7 separate regions of the Homo sapiens genome follow, and regions 2, 3, 4, 5, 6 and 7 are each linked to region 1. The links are contacts of gene promoters, found by promoter capture Hi-C in blood cells and fetal thymus (Javierre and others, 2016). All regions are on one chromosome and are shown on one strand. The core of a region is centred on a gene start or on the middle of the fragment in contact, and the rest is flanking DNA. Distances in the headings are between cores, read along the strand shown. Region 1 holds the start of ADM (adrenomedullin). Region 2 overlaps EIF4G2 (eukaryotic translation initiation factor 4 gamma 2). Region 3 overlaps SBF2 (SET binding factor 2). Region 4 has its middle 19 kb from the start of CTR9. Region 5 overlaps SBF2 (SET binding factor 2). Region 6 overlaps SBF2 (SET binding factor 2). Region 7 overlaps SBF2 (SET binding factor 2).

Region 1 (3,079 bases), core at 324-2,823:
AATCCTAAAGAAAGTGGGGAGCACTTCCACTCGGGGGGGCTGGAGCCCCGTGTGCTTGTGGCTTAGAAGACACCAGAGTCCGACCCGGGCCGGCCTCGGGCAGGGAGCGCCGGCGCCGGCGGCCGTAGCCCTGGGGGCTGATCTTGCTCCTGGGGGCGACGTTGTCCTTGTCCTTATCTGTGAACTGGTAGATCTGGTGTGCCAGCTTCTGCACCGTGCACGTCCCGAAGCGGCAGCCAAAGCTCCGGAGGCCCTGGAAGTTGTTCATGCTCTGGCGGTAGCGCTTGACTCGGATGCGGGCGGCATCCGGACTGCTGCGGGCGGGGGGAGGGGGAAGAAAGGCAACTTGAGACCCCATCAAGCAGAGCTTTGGCCCCAACACCGGGAACGGGAGCCATTCTAGAGCCAGAGGGAGCTGGAAACTGCTCGCGCCATCTGAGCTGCGGTCCAGCCCCGACGATCCCCCGGGCCAGGGGAGTGGAGACAGAGAACTCCTCCCGCACACCTTCCTTCCCTCCCGTCCCTGGACAGCACAGGGCGTAGTTACCTGTCTTCGGGGCTTCGAGAGGCACCCTTCATGTCCTGGGGCCGAATAAGGGTCTGGGCAGGCCCGGCCTTCACGTCAGCGAGCCCGGTGGGGTAGCTGCTGGACATCCGCAGTTCCCTCTTCCCACGACTCAGAGCCCACTTATTCCACCTGGAAAACACAAGCAGACCCGATTCGCGTGCGTTCAGGTGACGCCCAGGCCTGTCCCTGCTCCCATTCACTTCTAGACCTTCGGGACCAACGGTCAGTTCCCCTTGCCTGCCAGGTACCAGCAAGGGGGAAGGCGCTGCCCGGACTCACTTCTTTCGAAACTCCGACGCGACATCCAACCGAGCGGTGTCAGCGCCTAGGAAGGCGAGCGAACCCAGGTACATCAGGGCGACGGAAACCAGCTTCATCCCGGCTGCGAAGCGCAGACCCTGGAAAAGAAGAAAGAGAGTCGAGCGTGAGCACCCGGGCCAGCTGCACCGCCCGGGCGGGGCACGGAGGGCGGGCAGGGGCCCCGGCGAGGCGGGTTTAGCCCGCGCTTTCCCTGGCTCAGACGCTTATCTCCCTCCGCGCAGAGAGGCGCCAGAGGCGTTTGCACGCGCCGGCCGGGTGACAGGCCCCGCAGGGGAGGCCGCTGCACCCCGCCAGGCTCCCAGAGGGTCTCTGCTCAACTTCTTGGAACTTGGCTGACGGAGCAGAGGGGACTGGGTCTCTGGACCTCCAGCTGTGTGCACGAGCTGGGCCCAGGATATGGGGTGTATCTATCTCTCAGAGAACCCTCCAAAGTGGGTTGTTCCCCTCACCCAGCGCTCCCAGTTTAGGGCCTTGGCAAGCACTGCCCCCCACCCCACCTCTTAACCCGCAGGGTCTGCGGCACCTACCTGCTAAGAGAGTGATCTGCCAAGTACTTGAAGGAGAAAGTCTCAGACGTCCCACTGGCAATGGCAAAACTCCGAAGTCCAAGCCCAGCTGCAGTGAGAAGCCCGAAGTGGCAAGGCTTGAGCTGTTCTATCCAGTGTCACCAAGAAACCACTGAGTGGCCAGCTCTGGTTCCTGTGCTTTATAAGCGCACGGGTGGGGGAGCGGCGGGGCGGGGCCTGGGCTGCCCGGTTGCCTTCCCTTTCTTTCCTCAGCCACGCGCGCTCCTGCTCTCGGACGCGCGCATTGCTTCCTTTGGGGCTGGAGTTGGGATGGGGGGAGGGGGGAGCGGGGGAGAGGAGGTCCCTCGTGCCCAGAGGGCTTAGGTATGGGCTCCAGGCGGTTGGTGCAGGAACTGCCACAGCCCTCTTTGGGCACAGGGTTCAGACAGTACGCCGGAGCGAAGGGGCGCCACTACAACCTCTTGAGGTCCTTATCCAGGACCCATGCGGCCCGGAGTGCAAAGCCTCCTGGCGAAGAACAGCAAGAGCCCGCGGAAGGGACAGCGCGGATGGCCCGAGCCCTGGACCTGGGGAGCTGTGGCCTCAAGTGGACCGCGCCCCCCTGCCGGCTTGGCGCCTGACCGGGCCGCGACCCCAGACTCCCGCGGAGGGGCCGGGGCAGGGACGGAGCAAAGCCGAGAGGAGCAGGACTCACTAGTCCCCCAGAGGACCAAGACCCCGGCGTTTCGGGGTGAGCTAGTAAGATTTCACGGTAGGGACAAGGCTCAGAAAAGCTAAATTGAGAATTGGGATTTGGAGGGGGGAATTATCTGAAATTTCAGAATTTTCATTTCTATTTGGAAACATAGGAATAACCAAAATTAGGAGGAAATATACTGTTTCATTTTGCCTCCTTGTAATCCTATTATGCCTTATAAGGTCATAACCTGAGATTGTGCCTGGCTGCCTTCATTAATCCATCGTAAACGTGAGGACTGACTGCCAGGGAGCACACTAACGCTTCACGTATGCTAATCATTTTACAGTTTACCAAGCACGGCCACATCCCAGTCTACTTTGAGCTTCACAGCCACCCTTGAGTCAGGCAAGGAAGGTAACATTCCTTTTCCCATTTCAGCAGGTAGAAAATTCAAGCTCAGAGAGGGGAGGTATCTGCAGAGAGGGGAAGTCACCCTGCAGGTAGGAAGCAGCAGAGTCCCTACTCGGCCCGACACGCTAGCACGGCCGACTGGGGCGCGGCGTGGATTCCTCTAGGCTGGGGTCACCAACTTCTCAAGGGGCAAAGGAGAGTCCTAGCCCCCGCCCAAAGAATTTGTGCCTGTTCATGATGAATCACGCTAGACACGTTTGTCACCCGTTTGTGCTCTTTCATCACAGCTTCTTCTCTTTCTTACTTCTCTCCTGGGGGCCAAACTGGGAAGGAAAGGCTAAGCCACGGGGCTTCCTGCTTCGTGCTTGTGGGTTTCTGGGGTCCTACTAACCACTCCTCTAATCGAATGTCCTGAAGCCCAGCGACTCGACGGAGAGGCCAAAGGTGCGAGACCACTAGCCAAACAGGCTTCTAGTCCTCACCTCCCGGCAATTCGCTGTGTGAAGGTGGGCGAGTCATGTCCCATCTCTCGAGTCCCCATCTTAGAGCCGGTCCCCAGCAGACCTTTAAGCT
Region 2 (3,079 bases), core at 9-2,508, 490 kb before region 1:
AAGATTTATAATAGTATCTTACTACTGTATGCATCAGATCTTTAAATTTTTTGCCAAAAATTAAACCTGTTAATGTGGAGTACCTTCTTTAGTTTTTCAAAAAGCTTAATGTTTCCCTAGATTCTGTCACTGTATAGGATTTTAGAATGTTGTATTTAATATGTTCGCCAACTGCATGTTGTTAATTTAGATATATTTTGTTTTCAATTCCAGATTAGCCTGAGGCCTGCTCAGTCGTTCCTAATGAATAAAAATCAAGTGCCAAAGCTTCAGCCCCAGATAACTATGATTCCTCCTAGTGCACAACCACCACGCACTCAAACACCACCTCTGGGACAGGTACAGACCATAGTAGGACAGCATTTTCTAAAGATATCTGAAGACTTTTTTCTAAATTTAGTGTGTTCTTCCCCCTAATTTCATAGTCCTCTTTTTAAAAAAAGTCTGTCATTGCTTGTTTTTTAGACACCTCAGCTTGGTCTCAAAACTAATCCACCGCTTATCCAGGAAAAGCCTGCCAAGACCAGCAAAAAGCCACCACCGTCAAAGGAAGAACTCCTTAAACTAACTGTAAGTTTCAAATATCCCATTTTAGTGTAATTAGCCTGTATTTGAGATAGAGAATACATTAAAGATACTTGTGTTCTTCACAGGAAACTGTTGTGACTGAATATCTAAATAGTGGAAATGCAAATGAGGCTGTCAATGGTGTAAGAGAAATGAGGGCTCCTAAACACTTTCTTCCTGAGATGTTAAGCAAAGTAATCATCCTGTCACTAGATAGAAGCGATGAAGATAAAGAAAAAGCAAGTTCTTTGATCAGTTTACTCAAACAGGAAGGGATAGCCACAAGTGACAACTTCATGCAGGTAGGACACTTTACTGATTGTGTGGTAAGAACTCTTACCACTCAAATTCGAAAACTGATAAACTGTTGTATATTTCTTTCAAGGCTTTCCTGAATGTATTGGACCAGTGTCCCAAACTGGAGGTTGACATCCCTTTGGTGAAATCCTATTTAGCACAGTTTGCAGCTCGTGCCATCATTTCAGAGCTGGTGAGCATTTCAGAACTAGCTCAACCACTAGAAAGTGGCACCCATTTTCCTCTCTTCCTACTTTGTCTTCAGCAGTTAGCTAAATTACAAGATCGAGAATGGTTAACAGAACTTTTTCAACAAAGCAAGGTCAATATGCAGAAAATGCTCCCAGGTAAGAGAATGCTGACTTGTTTGTTTTGTTTTTTTAATATTATATCTAGAGATTTCAGGTACCTTGAGTGGATTTATGTAGGTCAGACAGTCTGATTGTCCTGCTCAGATAATGATAAACATTACCACAGATCTCACCTATAAAGAGAGATTTATAATTTAACTACTTTCATTTGATCCGTATGTTGAGTTTTTTTCATTTGCTGGGTTGGTTCTCTATTCTGCTACATGGATCTTACATACTTGGGGACATCATTTGTGAAGCTCTGCTCTCTGGACAGGACAACTTGGTAAAATGAACTATTAGATGATGCAGGTGGCTTTGTCTCTTCAGAAATTGATCAGAATAAGGACCGCATGTTGGAGATTTTGGAAGGAAAGGGACTGAGTTTCTTATTCCCACTCCTCAAATTGGAGAAGGAACTGTTGAAGCAAATAAAGTTGGATCCATCCCCTCAAACCATATATAAATGGATTAAAGATAACATCTCTCCCAAACTTCATGTAGATAAAGGATTTGTGAACATCTTAATGACTAGGTAAGACGAATGGTTTTCTGCATATGGTAATGTTTCATGTACTGGAAAAGAAGCGTAGGAGACTAAGAGTTGTCTCTTGAGCAAGAAAACTCACTGTTGGGTTCTAACAAGACCTCTTTCTGTCCAGCTTCTTACAGTACATTTCTAGTGAAGTAAACCCCCCCAGCGATGAAACAGATTCATCCTCTGCTCCTTCCAAAGAACAGTTAGAGCAGGAAAAACAACTACTACTATCTTTCAAGCCAGTAATGCAGAAATTTCTTCATGATCACGTTGATCTACAAGTCAGTGCCCTGTATGCTCTCCAGGTGCACTGCTATAACAGCAACTTCCCAAAAGGTGAGAGGACTTGTATCAGAAGAACGGCGTGAGGAAGTTCTTAAACAGAACACTAAATAATGGGCTTATTACTTTTTTCTTTTTTTTTTTTTTTTTAAGGCATGTTACTTCGCTTTTTTGTGCACTTCTATGACATGGAAATTATTGAAGAAGAAGCTTTCTTGGCTTGGAAAGAAGATATAACCCAAGAGTTTCCGGGAAAAGGCAAGGCTTTGTTCCAGGTAAGTCTTTTGTTAAAAATTTGGTCTGCTTACTTCAGTTTGCTTGGTATTAACTTCAAGTTAAGAGCCTTTTTCAACTGAAATACAGGCAAGGTAGTCCTAGTTAGTAGTTTGTCTTCACCTGTACATTTCATTCTGCACTATTTGAAGCTATTATTAAGTAAAGCTACACAATGAATCAATTCTAGTGGTGTATAAGATGTTAGAGGTAGCTAACTTTTCAAGGAGTATAGCTACTTATATACATGGGAGTGACTGTACAAGTTTCGATTTAAGCTTTTTTAAAAACATCAGTAAAGAGGAAATTGTAGCTGGGCACGTGGCTCATGCCTGTAATCCTAGCACTTTAAGAGGCTGAGGTGGGAGGATCACTTGAGCTCAGGAGTTCAAGACCAGCCTGGGCAGCATAGTGAAACCCTGTCTCTAAAAAATACAAAAAATTAGCCAGACGTGGTGACATGTTCTGTGGTCCTGGTCCCAGCTACTCGGGAGGATGTCTTGAGCCCAGGAGGCAGAGGTTGCAGTGAGCTGAGATCACACCACTGCACTCTAGTCTGGGCAACAGAGTGAGACTGTGTCTCAAAAAAAGAAAAAAAGTTTAAATACTATATATTTTTCTAAAAAGAGGAGATGTTTCTGATTTCTCACAATTTGATTTTTTCTTATTGAATGAACTTGTAGCCCTAGGGGAAGAACATCAGGGCATTCTCTCAAATCACCTGAAGAGCAGTTTAAAAAGCAGGTTCCAGGCCTATTCCTAGAGATTCTGG
Region 3 (3,079 bases), core at 206-2,705, 480 kb after region 1:
CATTTAATAGACTGGCAATTTAAGTGGGGCTGGTTTCTATATTTGGGTGTGGTAACTTGTAGACTATATAGAGAAAAATAAGCATAGATAGATAGGTAGATAGATAGATAGATAGATACTTGTTTTGTTAACACAGAGACAGTTTATTTTATTCAATATATTTTCCTTTTATAGCTCCTACCTCCTCTTTAGAATCTTCCAGTAGCATAGAACAAGAGAAATACTTGCAAGCCTTACTGAATGCTGTTTCTGTCCATCAGAAACTCAGAGGCAACAGCACTCTTACTGTCAGGCCAGCCTTTGCTCTATCTCCAGGTAAGATTTGATAATACTTTTCTTCTTGACAGCTTCTAATGAAAGGTCAGTTCTGTTCCTAGGGTTATTTGTACTGTTATTTGTTATTTGTACTGTTCCTTCACCAAGACTTCTTAAAAGTTTTACCCTGAAGGGTTATAAGTTTAACTCCTTTTACTTAGAAATCTACCACTATTAATGTCTAGTAAATAGTAACTTAACTTAGAGATTCAGTTTTTTCTTTTTTGTTTTATTTTCTTTTTTTTAAGAGATGGGGTCTCACTGTGTTGCCCAGTCTGGTCTCGAACTTCTGGGCTCAAGCAGTCTTCCCGCCTCAGCCTCCCAAAGTACTGAGATTACAGGTGTGAGGTGTGAGCTCAGTTATTTCCTTTTCAAAAGAGTAATTGGAGAGGAAGTGGGGAATATAAATAAAGTCACCCTTTATTCCCATATTTATCATACCCAGCTCAGTTATTTCCTTTTCAAAAGAGTAATTGGAGAGGAAGTGGGAAATATAAATAAAGTCACCCTTTATTCCCATATTTATCTTTCATAGACTTTAAAATATTCTTATGACATGGAATATGTAAGTGGAACATGTTTGTTAAATGTGTATTTATTAAAATCATCATTTATAAGTTTGAAATTCCCAAAATATCTGCAGCCTATTATGATTTTCAGTACAATTTGTTTTCACTGGATTTGGATGAAGCCATTAAGACTTGTACTAATATTCTGTTTCAGTTATCATGTGATGGAACCCCAAAGGGTTCATGTAGAGGTAACCCTAATGTGTTAGACACAGGAGCATGTGACTTGAGAAGTTGGTCTCTTTGGCTTAATCAGCTATTTGAATTAGCTCAACATAAGCAGAAAGTGGCTTTTCTTGTAAAATAACACCATGCATGCCTTGCTCCATTTATCATTAAATTCTCTGATTGCACTTGCCAAACCTAACTCTCTATAATCTTGCAAATGTGTGTTATCTCTGATTAATAATAACATTGCCTTGTTATCTCTAATAAAGCTTTGGGTACTTAAAAGTACAATGTTTGGCAGCAGTTAAACATGCTACACCTGAAGATAACTTTTTGTCATTTGAGTAATGTTAACCCAAACAACATGGTTTTTGTTCTTCTTTTTGGCTGACTTTAGGGACTGAAAGGAGGACTTCAAGAATGTCCACTGTGCTTAAGCAGGTAGTGCCAGGACATTTGGATGTAAACCCATCCAATAGCTTTGCTCAAGGAGGTTAGTAAGATTGATTTTATAACTGAGCACTGATGCAAGCTTAAAAGCAGAAAGCATTTTTCTAGATAGTTGATATTTTAAATCAATTAATTATGATTCAAATTGTTCTTAATTACCCTCTTCTGAATGAATGGTCAAATGTATTACTAGCATGATGACAGATGAGCTTAGCCTTGTGGGACAAGAAGTATAATAATTGCTGATGTCATATATATTGATAAGTTTGGGAGCATTAAGAGGTAAGGGGAGCATGTCTAAATGATGAGTCAGCCCTGGGAGTACTCCCTGATACTCCAGATTTGCAGGGCAGAAAGACCAATCTATCACAGAAGTATAGATAGTTAAGGAGAAGTGATTCCAGATCGAAGGAACTCCAAGTCCTGTTATTTTTGCTCCTGTCCTCTGAAATACTGGTTTGGAGGATAAGACATCATGATATCCAGGTAGCTGCTGACATGAGGAAATAGAGAAAGGCTAAGTATTCATTCTTTTAAGCTCCAAAAGGTCATCCACTTTGTTCTCTGGAAGTTTATGTGAGATTCTTTTCACTCTGCAGAGGAAATTCCAGACCAGATTCTTTTTTTTTTTTTTTTAAGACAGAGTCTTACTTTGTTGCCCAGGCTGGAGTGCAGTGGAACTGTCATAGCTAACTAACTGCAGCCTCCAACTCCTGGGCTTGAGCAATCCTCCTGCCTCAAGCTCCCAAGGAGCTAAGACTACAGGTGTGTGCCACCACTCCCAGCTAAATTTTTAAAATATTTTTTGGGACAGAGTCTTACTATGTTGCCCAGGCTGGTCTTGAACTCCTGGCCTGAAGCAGTCCTCCCACCTGGGCTTCCCAAAGTGCTGGGATTACAGGCGTGAGAAAGCACCTGGCCCCAGATATCTCAACTGTGAAGTCCCACTGTCTCACAATGGAGTCACAGAATCTTAGACTCTTCCTCTCACCCCCATATAATGATGAATTCCCTTAAAAAGATACTAAGTAGGCCGGGCACGGTGGCTCACGCCTATAATCCCAGCACTTTGGGAGGCTGAGGCAAGCAGATCACCTGAGGTCAGGAATTCCAGACCAGCCTGGCCAACATGGTGAAACCCTGTCTCTACTAAAAATACTAAAATTAGCCAGGCGTGGTGGTGCACACCTGTAGTCTCAGCTACTCAGGAGGCTGAGACAGGAGAATCAGTTGAACCCGGGAGGCAGAGGTTGCATAGACCGGGAGGCAGAGGTTGCATAGAGCCAAGATCGCACCATTGCTGGGCAACAAGAGCAAAATGAGCCGAGATCACTCCAGCCTGGGCAACAAGAGCAAAACTCCATCTCAAAAAATAAACAAAAGTGTGTGTGTATATATATACATACACACACACACATACACACACACACACACACATATATATATATATATATACACACCACACACTAAGTAAGTAATCTTGTTTCTGCTTGAACATCATCAGTAATGGGAAACTCATTTCTTCCCCAAAATAATCCCTTACATTTGTGAGCAACTCTATGTGTTGCTTTCTCATA
Region 4 (3,079 bases), core at 246-2,745, 430 kb before region 1:
TCTTTAAGGAGGACTGCTCCTTCCTCCCCCTCCTTTGTCCTCTTGGTCCTCAAAGTAACCGCATGCACCTGACACAGTTCTTGGAGCCTTATGCATATAACAGAGAAGAAGAAAATAGTATTTAAAACCATGGCCCACTGTAGCCGCTTTGCCTTAAAAAGGAAAGTGACACAATTGAAATCTGTAACAAATCTCTAAATAGATCTTGTTCCTTGCAGAGGCCAAGATGAGATTCCAGCCAATGTTTGGAAATTTCAAAGAGCAGGAAACCTAGGCTGACATGGTGGCTCTCAGGGCACAGGATTATTATTTATATATATAATATATTCAATTATATCAGTATATATTATATATATTTAAATGTATTCATTTAATGAGTGAATTAAGCACCCTAAAAAGTGAGCATTGCTTTCCCCATTTTACAGATTATGAATGAGGCTCAGAGACAGAATCACCCACTCAGCTACAAAGGGGTGGAACTGGGCTTCCAAGCCAGGGCTTCTTGGCTCTAAAGTTTGTGGTTGCCCTTCCAGAACAGAATGCCATTTGCCACCCCCATAGCGGCCTCCTGCCTGTGATTTGGTCTAGGTGGGCTTCTCGGGAAGGGACATGTTAAAGAGGTAGAAGGCAAGTTTTATTTGTATGTTTACTTAACTTCTCATGTTTAGTTAAACTTTCATGGGAGTGACAGAGGGGGGATGGGGAGAATAGAGAAACTCTTTTTTTTCTGAGACAGAGTCTCACTGTGTTGCCCAGGCTGGAGTGCAGTGGCACGATCTTGGCTCACTGCAACCTCCACCTCTGGGGTTCAGGTGATTCTTGTGCTTCAGCCTCCCGAGTAGCTGAGACTACAGGTGCAAGCCGCCACCCAGCTAATTTTGTATTTAGTAGAGATGGGGTTTTGCCATGTTGGCCAGGCTGGTCTGGAACTCCTGGGCTCAGGTCATCTGCCCACCTCTGCCTCCCAAAGTGCTGGGATTACAGGCGTGAGCCACTGCACCTGGCAGAGAAACTCTTATACCAGGATTCTGATCATGGTAGGAAGGAGAAGCCCAGTGGGCCTTGGAAAGTCAAACTCTGCTGGGGAGGCAGTGTGGCATAGTGCTGGGCACACAGGCTTAGAGCCCAGCTAGACTGAATTCAAGTCCCAGGGCCACGGTGTATTAACCGTGATCTCACACAAGTTAATAAACCTATTAAGACTTGAGTTTCTATTAACCTATTAACTTAATAGGTTAATAAACCTATTAAGACCTTAAAAATGAGACCTACCTCCTAAGGTCTTTGAGGAAATCAAACCAAAAACCACAAGTAAAGCACTTAGCATAGTGCCTAGCATCCCTCAAATGATAGCTGTCATCATACACATTAAAATACATAGTGCTTGGAAGATTCGGAGGCATTCTAAAATCCCCTCCTGGTAAACGTTGCCATGCTCATATACTACGCCATACTGAGAGGGCACGGGAAAGCAGCTCATGCACAGTGCTTTTTTCTGTTTTTGGCGCTTGGGAGCAAGCTGGTGGGAAGTGCGGTGGGCTTCGACTCGGACTACCTCTGTCATTGTCTATTGGTATGAAAGGAGAAGGACCTGCTGACTATACAAAAGACCAGTATCCATCATGGAGACATGAGGACAGAGGGATTGAAATATATTTGGTTTTTCGGTGCCAGGAAGCCTGGCACAGAAGAGCTGGTTCTCAGAGATCCGGGTGCCCCCTATCTCTGACATCTGGCCCAGAAATCAAGCTGGAGGAGGTAGGAAATCTGATCACCATGCTTGGCCAGGACCTGTTCAGAGATTGTCAAGGCTGGGATAGGGGTGCAGGTCAGGTCTGCCCTGGGAGCTGGCTAGAAGGAAGGTGAGGCAGGCAAGGCACTCGGGGCACAGCATTTGAAGAGACACTCACTCTCAGGTGCTGACCCTGCACTTGCATGGGCCAGAGAAGGAGTGTCTTCTTCAATTCTGTGTCCTGGGTACCCCCCCTTGACTCCCTAGCTAGCAGGGAGAGAGAGAGAGAGAAAGAGAGAGAGAGAGAGAAGATGCAAGGAAGATGAAAGTCATAGTCCTTTATAGCCTAATCTCAGAAGTGACACCCCATCACTTTAGTCCTATTATGTTAGAAGCAACTCACTCTGTACAGTACACACACACACACACACACACACACACACACACACATGAGGGGACACACCAAGATGTGACTGTAACTGCCTATTGGGTTCTCCTTGCCTGCTGCCTAGACAGAGCCAATTTATCAAGACAGGGAAATTGCAATAGAGAAAGAGTTTAATTCACACAGAGTCAGCTGTGTGGGAGACCAGAGTTTTATTATTACTCAAAGCTGTCTCCCTGAAAACTCGAGGATTGGGGTTCTTAATGATAATTTGCCGAGTAGGGTGTCGGGAAGTGGGGAGTGCTGATTGGTCAGGTGGGATATGAAGTCATAGGGAGTTGAAGCTGTCCTCTTGCACTGAGTCAGTTCCTGGGTAGGGGCCACATGACTGGATGAGCCAGTTTATCAATCTGGGTGGTACCAGCTCATCCTTTGAGGGCAGGGTCTGCAAAATATCTCAAACACTGATCTTAGGCTTTACAATAGTGATGTTAGCCCCAGGATGCAATTTGGGAAGGTTCAGAATCTTACAGCCTCCAGCTGCATGACTCCTAAACCACAATTTCTAATCTTGTGGCAAATTTGTTAGTCCTGCAAAGGCAGTCTAGTTCCCAGGCAGGAAGGGGGTTTGTTTTGGGAAAGGGCTGTTATCATCTTTATTTCAAAGTTAAACTATAAACTGACTTCCTCCCAAAGTTAGTTCGGCCTGTGCCCAGGAATGAACACGGACAGCTTGGAGGTTAGAAGCAAGATGGAGTCAGTTAGGTCAGATCTCTTTCACTGTCATAAATTTCTCAGTTAAAATTTTTGCAAAGGCGGTTTCATGACTATCCAGATCATCAAGACCATTTCAGAAGTGGCCTACCACAGGAAGGGAGTAGAGGCAAACAATTGGGATTTACTGAGGTCTAAACATGTATGAGGGCATCTCATAATTATCCCATTAGGTTCTTTTTTTTTTT
Region 5 (3,079 bases), core at 375-2,874, 410 kb after region 1:
AAAGTAAAGGTGGCTACTCAGCAATAATGTATGAAAATACCTTTCTCAAATATACTTTTACCTTATTTATAAAAGAATGTGCTTCACACACAGTTTTTTCCCCCAAAACTTACCTAGCTATGTCTTAATGGCAATTTGGAATAAGAGTACAAACCCCTCCGTCAGGTCCTCTGCAAAATAAAAAGGTAAAAACCCCATAGGACAGTAAACAGTGTATCCCAGATGTTAGTTCGCATGTATTTGTGATTTCTGGTAAATATCCTAATGCTCTTTTGTCTTTGTTTTGCTTAAAGGATTGTTCAAGTTTAGAAGAATACAACATTGCCGCAGCATTACTCCCTTTGACCAGTGCTTTCTATAGGGTAAGTTTCATTGGTCCATATATAAGCTTGTTATGATTTACATAAATGTATTCAGTTTGATTTATTATGGAACTACATGAAAATCCTGTCCTCTTAGTAGCATGCCTAAGATATATCTGCGGTTATATTTATTATAACATTTATTGCATGCTATGTGTAGGAAATTTAATATAGAACACTAAATCATCTCCTAAAATACCACCCACACCCGTTACATCCTTTTCCTTAATTTTCTTTATAGTACTTCATAACACCTGAATTTATGTTGCATATTGGTTTGTTTACATGTTTTTTCCCCATCACAGAAAGTAAATTTCATGAGGCTGGAATATTGTCTGTCCTCTTTACTGCTATGTCCCAGGGCCACTCAGTAAATATTTATTGAATGAATGACATTGAAGCCAGAAATTAGAGTTTAACTTTACTGGTAATTTCTGCGAACCTTCTGAGAACTTTCTGGAATGTTCACAGTGATTTTTTAAAATTCTGTCACTTACTACAGTTATATCTATGCTTTTTCATAAATAGATTCATTCTTATGGCAGAAAAAACCAGCAAATTTCTTTTCCCGTGAAGGACTTGTAAAGAATTAGATAACCACCCACACTCAGAACAATGCATTTAATACATCCTTCTGAAATATGCAATCATAAACAGTAAATCTGTGGTAGCAGCTGACTTACTATTCAGCTACATGCACAGTCAGCTTCAGGAAGCAATAAGTTAACAAGTTTGGTAACTGCCATACTGTTTCTCTGTGTTAGCAGATTAATCATACATAGGTTTTAGTGGTGGGCTTAGATTTGATTTTTTGTGGTTGGCATGGTTTGTTGTTGGATGAGTTTGTTTTGGGTTATTTTGGTTTAGGGATGAATCAGTCAAGGTCTAGTCAGGAGCCAGAAACCACACCAGTAATTTGAACAGAGAAATTTTGTTTTATTTTTATTTATTTATTTATTGAGACAGAGTTTTAGCTCTTGTTGCCCAGGCTAGAGTGCAATGGCTCAATCTCGGCTCATTGCAACCTCCTCCTCCCATGTTCAAGTGATTCTCCTGCCTCAGTTGCCCAAGTGGCTGGGGTTATAGGCATGTACCACCACACTTGGCTGAGTTTTTGTATTTTTAGTAGAAATGGGGTTTCACCATGTTGGTCAGGCTGGTCTCAAACTCCTGACCTCAGGTGATCCACCTGCCTCGGCCTCCCAAAGTGCTGGGATTACAGGCATGAGCTACTGCGCCTGGCCTATTTTTATTTTTTTGAGGCAGTGTTTCACTCTGTTGCCCAGGCTGTAGTGCAGTGGCACAATCTTAGCTCCCTACAGCCTCTGCCTCCTGGGCTCAAGTGATCCTCCCATCTCAGCCTCCCAAGTAGCTGGAACTACAGGCACACACCACCACACCCAGCTAATTTTTTTTTTCTTTTTTTGTGACAGGGTCTCGCTCTGTCGCCCAGGCTAGAGTGTAGTGGCGCGATTTCAGCTCGCTGCAACCTCCACCTCCCAGGTTCAAGTGATTCTCCTGCCTCAGCCTCCCGAGTAGGTGGGACTACAGGCACGTGCCACCACACCCAGCTAATTTTTGTGTTTTTAGTAGAGACAGGGTTTCACCGTGTTGGCCAGAATGGTCTTGATCTCCTGACCTTGTGATCCGCCTGCCTTGGCCTCCCAAAGTGCTGGGATTACAGGTGTGAACCACCATGTCCAGCAGATTTTTTGTATTTTTTTGTAGAGACAGAGTTTCACCATGTTGCCCAGGCTGGTCTAAAATTCCTAGACTCAAGCTGTCTGCCCACCTTGGCCTCCCAAAGTGCTGCAATTACAGGGGTGAGCCACCACGCCTGGCTGATTTTTGTATTTTTTTGTAGAGACAGAGTTTCATCATGTTGCCCAGGCTGGTCTCAAATTCCTAGACTCAAGCTGTCTGCCCACTTTGGCCTCACAAAGTGCTGCGATTACAGTGGTGAGCCACCACGCCTGACCAGAAATTTTAATATAAGGAGTTATTAAGTAGTAATAGGGGATTAACTACTAAGAGGTAAAGAGAATTCGTAAGAATGCAGGAATAAAATATAGGGAGCAACTACTACCTCTAGGGCTCAGGCATACTACCTAACAAAGAAGCAAACTTGGAAGAGAGCCCCTTCCCAGATCTAGGCTGATTCAGATCATGTTGGAGAGGTGTTGTGGCCACTGGATGGCATCGAATTTCAAGAGACCAGAACTGGCAAGCAGTAAACTGCCTGCTGGAGTGCTGGCAAGACTTGCTAGGAAGCCCCCCACTAGGATGGCCGTGAAACTTCTAGGGTGCTAGTGAAACTTGATAGGAAGCTACCACCTGGGGTACCACTGAAACTTTATAGATAGCACTGCCACTGTGGTCCCACACACCACCATTAGGTGCTTACCACAGGAGCAAGAAGGAGAAAGTACACCAGAACTAGGAAGAGAATACACTTTCTACTGCAGTGTTCCTTCAGCACCTTTACTGGCAAAGCTTAATATTCTGCATTTTGGCAAAGGAGAAATGTTTATAAGGGCCAGTTCCAGTATCACAAAGCAAGACAGAGAAGGATAGATTTGGAAGAAAGAAGTACTGCATTGATAACAGAGGGGTTAGGTAAGGTAGATCACACGGATTCTCGGATATTTTCTAAATCTTTACCCTTTGGAAAATTATTTCTAGTGCATATTAGATTTGTTAATTCAGGAAGTAGATGT
Region 6 (3,079 bases), core at 331-2,830, 310 kb after region 1:
TGAGTAGAGACAGGGTTTTACCATGTTGGCCAGGCTGGTTTCAAATTCCTGACCTGAAGTGATCCACCCACGTTGCCCTCCCAAAGTGTTGGGATTACAGGCGTGAGCCACTGCACCTGGCCTCTCCTCAGTAATTTTTAATTACACTTAGAAACATAAAAACAAGCAGCTGTTTTTAAAAATTCAACTATATAGACAAATAGCTCTGGCCTAGATTATTCCCTTACCAGAAATGACTACTATTTTATAGTTTAGTGTATTTTTTTCAGAACTTTTCATTTTCATATATATATATATATGTACATATATAGATTTAGGGTTTATTTTGTTTTATTTTCAAATAAATTAGGCCATACTATGTGTATTTTTCTAGAACATGTTTTCTTTTCTTTTTTTTTTTTTGAGATGGAGTCTCGCTCTGTCGCCCAGGCTGGAGTGCAGTGGCGCAATCTCGGCTCACTGCAAGCTCCGCCTCCCGGGTTCACGCCATTCTCCTGCCTCAGCCTCCCAAGTAGCTGGGACTACAGGCGCCCACCACCACGCCCGGCTAATTTTTTTGTATTTTTAGTAGAGATGGGGTTTCACCGTGTTAGCCAGGATGGTCTCGATCTCCTGACCTCGTGATCTGCCTGCCTCAGCCTCCCAAAGTGCTGGGATTACAGGCGTGAGCCACCGCGCCCGGCCGAACATGTTTCAACTGAATATTTTGTCTTGGAGATCTTTCTACAATAGTACATATAGAACTACCCCAGCTAATTGAATTGTATTCATGGAGGGAATATATTATAATTCATATGCTGACATTTTCATCTTAATGTCTCAATAATAGATTTCATTGATATTATGATATTTTACATAACAAAACTTTTTTGCTTTAGATTTTACACCCAGATTTGGAAGTAGCAGATCATGCTTTTCCTCCTCCACGAACAGCTTTATCCCACTCAAAAATGCTGGTAAGAAGTTTAATATTTAAATTTAATGCTGTTAAAGAGAGCTGTATTTTTATTTATAGGGTTGTTAAAGAAGCTAAGTGAAGTTAGAGTTAGATGGACAGCAGAGTAAAAAGTGCCCCAAATTAGAAATTAGGATACTTGCCGCTGACTGTCCTTATGTCCTGCTCAAGGAGGAGCCACAGGGAAGTTCACTGGGCAAGAGGCCACTAGGGCTAAGACTGTTGCCCTGAGGAGGCATGAGTTAAGTGTAGGACAGAAAATCAGAGCCTAGATTATAGCCTGGAAAACTGTGCCAAGCATCAAATTGAAATGGCCACACAAGGATTCAAAACAAAAGAGATGCTTACAAGAATGGATATAAAGAATGTTGGTTATAGGAGAGAATCAAGTTTGAAGAGTCTGTGGATGAAAATAGTTTCAATTAGAAGCCATAAAAGGTTACGTATATAACAGAGGCCCCTTTTTTATTTTGCTCAGTGCATTTCTTAGCAGTGGGCTTTGTAGCCAATAAGGAACCTCAGGGAGCTGAACACATATACTTAAGCATTCTTGACCTTCATTTCCTGATCAATTAAGTAAGGCATTGACTAACAGAATCTGTAAGTTTCCTTACAGTTCTAAACTGTGATTCCAATAAAAGCTGGATTAAATACAATCTTGAGAGTTTTTTCTTCTTATGTTTGGTTGTGACTGTAATTGTTTTGGTGGATATAAAAATCAAAGGACTTGGAATATATGCCCTTTTCACCTTTTTGACTTGATATTTCATTTGTTTTTAAAAAGTTAAATTACCTAACATTTCTTCTTATATTTTTAGGATAAAGAGGTGCGAGCCGTTTTCCTTAGATTATTTGCACAACTCTTCCAAGGATATAGATCCTGCCTGCAACTTATAAGAATTCATGCAGAGCCAGTAATACATTTCCACAAGGTAAGATAGAGTACTATATTGTATCTGTCCAAAAAATATATTCTAATTTAATAAAACTACTTGGTTTTTTTTCCGAGCCATTTATTTTGACCTTGATTTATCAAATGTGATTATTTAAAATCTCTGTGTGGTTAGATATCAGTTCTTAATAATAATATGGAACTCATAATATCTTAGAATATGTTAACTTTAAATCAATTTTTCTTTTAAAATTGAATGTTAATTTCTGATTTCTTCTCCTGACATGTAGACAGATTCATTTTTATTCTTTTCAATATATGTAGTATTTCAGAATAACTCTCTTTGAGAGAAATATATTTTATGACAGCATATATTTATACATGAAGGGATTTATATAGGCTTTGATCTTTTTATTGTATTTCTGTTTTGACCATTTGTCCGTTACCAAGTGATAAATTATTATTTCACATTTTCTTTTTTCACAGACAGCATTCTTGGGGCAGCGTGGTTTGGTCGAGAATGATTTCCTCACTAAAGTACTCAGTGGAATGGCATTTGCAGGTTTTGTTTCAGAAAGAGGTCCTCCTTATAGATCTTGTGATCTCTTTGATGAGGTATAGCTCTTATTAAATGAAGGCATTATTTATAGACATAATTAGACTAGTAGTTAAAAGTAAAAAGTAACATTTTCCATATTTATATAGTCAAATATAAATTAGGTATTAAATAATCCCAATGTTATTTATTATGCTTATCAAATCTCGATATTTTAATGTGGATTATAAAAATTACAAAAAATTATAAGATGCCTTGGAAATACATATAATTTTTGAACAACTGAATTTTAAATAATTGAACAATGTATACTACTCAGGTGATGAGTGCACTAAAATCTCAGAATTCGCCACTATGTAATTCATCCATGTAACCGAAAACCACTCATACTCCAAAAGCTACTCATATTTTAAAATATTACATTTTAAAAAATGGTTGTTTAAAATATTTTTGAAAATTTAATAGTGATTGTATAAATAGAAGTCTTATTTTTAAAGGCCCTAATACAGTAATTCTTTTGTCAGTGTTTTAGGGAGAAAGGTCTAATTTGAAGCTAAGATAGCTGAAATTACTTCAAACTGGAGTTACATTTAGTCTATCAAAATCATAGAGCCATAGTTTAAGTTTGTGGCATTCTCACTAATCAATTATCAACATTTCTCTACCTGTCTTAGGA
Region 7 (3,079 bases), core at 365-2,864, 270 kb after region 1:
TTCCTGTGTTCTTTTCACAGATCTCCTTTTAGAAAAAGTACTTTTTAACTTTTCATCATAACAAGTTGATCTAGGATCATTTTATTCCTTCCCTGCCTCTGCCTTGAAATCAGCCATTTCTTCAAGGAGTCTGACTCCTTTGAATAGGGAATAATATTAGAAGCTAAGATCTGGGTTCTTGTATAGTTTGAATCCATATGTCAAGAAGTTATTTCTCTTTTTAGCTTAGATATTTTCCTACTTGCCATTTTAAGTGGGCCCAGAAATCATAATTTATTTGTTACGATCACCTTACAAAAGGTTACAGTCTGCTTCATATCAGTTTTTCCAAGATTTTGAAAATGCGGATAGGTTGTGAGAATTCCGGATTCTATATAATTGTACTTAGGTACTAGCCAGAATTGTAAGACCACTTTTCTGGAAACATAAGTTAATGTCTTTTGGGCTTGGTGGAAAAGAGGGATAAACAATGAAGCAGAATTTGAAAAAAAAATAGAACCCAGAAGATGTTTCTTTCTTGTCATCAGTAAAGTTGTTTTCATTTTTGGCATGAACTGTTTATGTCCCTTTAAAAATGTGTTTTTCTTTTCTTTTTGGATCATATCATCAGTTCAAAATAGATCTTTTAATTCTTTTTTGGTGTGAATTACTTCATACCAAATATACTATGACACATTATTTGGAAGCCTAAAGAGGGGGAACTTAGGGACATACACCATCCAGAATGTGATTGTGCAACTTTAAAAATGTTAGCTCTGTTATCTTTCCAAGATACAGTAACACTGTCAGTAATCATAAGCAAAACTTGGCATTAAACTTTTGATAATATGTTCCCAAAATTACTCAACTAGGTAATGTGATCCTAAATTTTTTTAAGTAATCAGCAAAATATGATAGATTTACATTGACTTTTATTACTTATCTAAATAATCATTTGATTATCTTAAAATATGTTAAAAGTATAAAATTTTAAATATCTAAAATTTAAATTTAGTTCTATATCTTTTTAAAGTTATTTCATATGTTTATATACTTGTCTCTGAATCAGTGGTAATTATGCAGTTCTCAGTGAGAACATTTGGTGTGTCATCAAATTGTCATCAAAGAAAGAGAGAGGGAATGAATTTTGTAATTTCGAGAGATAAGAGGAGGAAAAAAGAGGGAGAGACATAGAAGACATAAGATACGTTTCTCCATCACAGTGGGCTTCAAATCTAGCTTGGGAAGCAGAACCAAAACTTAAGTACAAAACCATTCCAAAGTATCATATGCTAAGTATCATTCAGTGAAACAGATAATAATTGCAGACTAGGCAACTGGAATAAATCATACAGAGTTTAAAAGACTCAGTGGACATTTTAATAAGAGCTAACACCTAGAGTAAGGGAAAGAAAAAGGACAATTCAAACAAAAAGCTTGTGCAAAGGAAAAAAGATTGTAGTGCTTATGATAAATTAAAGTCTTATGTTCTGGGTACTGTGCTAAAAGTTTTACAACACTTTATTTCATTCTATTTTATTTAACTCACATATAGTTTATTCTCACAAAACACCATTTGATAGGTTTTAACATTTCCATTTTACAGATGAGGCTTACTTAGGGACATTCAGTACCAAGTTAAAGTGCTTGATTGATTCTGTCTCCAAGGACCAAATAATAACCACATATACTACAAAGCTGCAAAAATTGTATCAGTGTGCTATAGGTTCAAGAATTAAGTGTCAAGGGTAAAAACAATTATGGGAACAAAACCAATACTCCAGAAGCAGACCCTATTGTGTATAGGAGATCAGTGTCCAACAATAGAAGCTTTATAAATCAATGGAATGTGTGTATTTCAACAAATATTATTTAAACAGTTGATGAGCTATTTGAGAAAAGAAAAAAATTTAAACATAGTATCATATAATTAATTCCAAGCAGTTAAGTAATTACCTGGAAAATGGAGTAATAAAAAGGAATTTATAAATTCGTCTCTAGATGGTATAAAACAGTGGAGAAAACCACACACAAAACAGTGTATAGATTTAGCTGAAGTACTACAACCCAATCATTTTTGGTACTCCCCCACCCCCACCATCCCGCTCTTTATCATAGTAAACTATGCTCATTGTAGAAGACATAGAGAGAACATGCAGGAAAAAATTTGAGAGAACAGAAAAAGATGGTTTGACATATTTTCTTCCAATAATAAGGATTTTTTTTTTTTAACAAAAGTTGCTGTACACTAGTTGACCATATAGGTAGGTTTAATTAATCCCCTGATGGACATGTATTTCCTGTTTTGTCAATATTATGAATAACTGTGATGAATATCTCATTGGAAAAACCTTAGTTCCTTCAAGAAGGGTTTAGTCCCAGGTAATCCAACTCTTTGAACTAAAAATTCGAAATAGCAGTATTTGGGAATTGGGCTTGCTGATATTGTAATCAACTTTACACTTGGTAGCATTCTAGAGACTAATTCTTAGGTCTTATTCAACAAGACTAGACTTTGTTAGAGTCTGGTGAAAACTAGCATGCGTAACATAATTCACACAGAGAAAAAATTGGGAGACTTGTGTATTCTGAGTTTATTCTATAGTTTGATAATTTACAACTTTGCAAGTATCCACATGGGATTCTCCTTAGAGTATCGATGCTGAAGATTATGTCTTTTACCAAAGAATCTGTCTTCTCCTCCCCTTTTGAAAATGAGAATTGGCAAATGGACAGAATGCTGAATCTTAACAGTCCCCTTGATGTCCCTCACAGATGTATTTTGTAGGGAAAAACTGTCACTGGATTAACTATGATTAATTGGTGCAACATGCTTAAAATGATATAAGACTTTAAAACAACAGGAGAAACTTTTGGGATTAAGTTTCCAGAATCCTTCAACATCAAATACCTTTTCTTAAATTTTGACAACTATTTCAGGCTAGGAAGGGCTGCAGTGAGAACTGTGTATTGTTACTATTTCATTTTAAAACAAAAATTACTACATTCAAATATAATTAAAGGAAAACAAACCTGAACATCTTTTCAAATTGACAGTTTGGCGTCTCAGATGTTATCTTTCCTAAACAGCTTATTTTAA

Evidence for each region. Contacts are between HindIII fragments. The CHiCAGO score rates a contact against its expected background, and 5 or more counts as called.
Region 2: a fragment that was not itself captured here is called in contact with the fragment with the promoter of ADM in region 1 in 1 of 17 cell types (neutrophils); the score reaches 5.2 in neutrophils.
Region 3: a contact is called between a fragment that was not itself captured here and the fragment with the promoter of ADM in region 1, in 2 of 17 cell types (M0 macrophages and megakaryocytes). The highest score is 5.6, in M0 macrophages.
Region 4: a fragment that was not itself captured here is called in contact with the fragment with the promoter of ADM in region 1 in 8 of 17 cell types (endothelial precursors, M0 macrophages, neutrophils and 5 more); the score reaches 14.1 in endothelial precursors.
Region 5: a fragment that was not itself captured here is called in contact with the fragment with the promoter of ADM in region 1 in 1 of 17 cell types (M1 macrophages); the score reaches 6.0 in M1 macrophages.
Region 6: a fragment that was not itself captured here is called in contact with the fragment with the promoter of ADM in region 1 in 5 of 17 cell types (endothelial precursors, M2 macrophages, M1 macrophages and 2 more); the score reaches 8.0 in endothelial precursors.
Region 7: a fragment that was not itself captured here is called in contact with the fragment with the promoter of ADM in region 1 in 1 of 17 cell types (M1 macrophages); the score reaches 5.1 in M1 macrophages.

Annotation. Positions count from the first base shown.
Region 1 is chr11:10,303,567-10,306,645 of GRCh38, reverse strand. It overlaps ADM (adrenomedullin), which reads right to left and starts at 1,573. Exons shown (of 4, transcript NM_001124.3): 1 at 1,417-1,573; 2 at 848-966; 3 at 548-697; 4 at 1-314. The coding sequence starts at 945. The coding sequence ends at 5. It also overlaps a transcript of SBF2 not described here. RefSeq lists silencers at 982-1,031, 1,052-1,101, 1,782-1,831, 2,012-2,111, 2,602-2,661. The HindIII fragment of the contact is 5,037 bases long and covers 1-3,079 here.
Region 2 is chr11:10,798,222-10,801,300 of GRCh38, reverse strand. It overlaps EIF4G2 (eukaryotic translation initiation factor 4 gamma 2), which reads left to right. Exons shown (of 22, transcript NM_001418.4): 15 at 214-339; 16 at 466-570; 17 at 654-869; 18 at 953-1,211; 19 at 1,545-1,749; 20 at 1,877-2,088; 21 at 2,188-2,309. Among named protein-coding and RNA genes, the nearest start is that of SNORD97, 1.8 kb to the left of the region's middle. The HindIII fragment of the contact is 1,977 bases long and covers 270-2,246 here.
Region 3 is chr11:9,826,592-9,829,670 of GRCh38, reverse strand. It overlaps SBF2 (SET binding factor 2), which reads left to right. Exons shown (of 40, transcript NM_030962.4): 28 at 175-315. Among named protein-coding and RNA genes, the nearest start is that of LINC02709, 69 kb to the right of the region's middle. The HindIII fragment of the contact is 263 bases long and covers 1,324-1,586 here.
Region 4 is chr11:10,731,045-10,734,123 of GRCh38, reverse strand. No RefSeq gene overlaps it. Among named protein-coding and RNA genes, the nearest start is that of CTR9, 19 kb to the left of the region's middle. The HindIII fragment of the contact is 7,606 bases long and covers 1-3,079 here.
Region 5 is chr11:9,893,226-9,896,304 of GRCh38, reverse strand. It overlaps SBF2 (SET binding factor 2), which reads left to right. Exons shown (of 40, transcript NM_030962.4): 17 at 294-362. All of the region lies in intron 1 of LOC101928008 (a long non-coding RNA gene), which reads right to left. Among named protein-coding and RNA genes, the nearest start is that of LINC02709, 140 kb to the right of the region's middle. RefSeq lists enhancers at 1,661-2,161, 2,162-2,662. The HindIII fragment of the contact is 2,467 bases long and covers 391-2,857 here.
Region 6 is chr11:9,991,798-9,994,876 of GRCh38, reverse strand. SBF2 (SET binding factor 2) reads left to right here. Exons shown (of 40, transcript NM_030962.4): 10 at 879-956; 11 at 1,774-1,887; 12 at 2,334-2,462. Among named protein-coding and RNA genes, the nearest start is that of LINC02709, 230 kb to the right of the region's middle. The HindIII fragment of the contact is 4,497 bases long and covers 1-3,079 here.
Region 7 is chr11:10,036,767-10,039,845 of GRCh38, reverse strand. The region is part of intron 3 of SBF2 (SET binding factor 2); the gene reads left to right. Among named protein-coding and RNA genes, the nearest start is that of SBF2, 260 kb to the left of the region's middle. The HindIII fragment of the contact is 394 bases long and covers 1,418-1,811 here.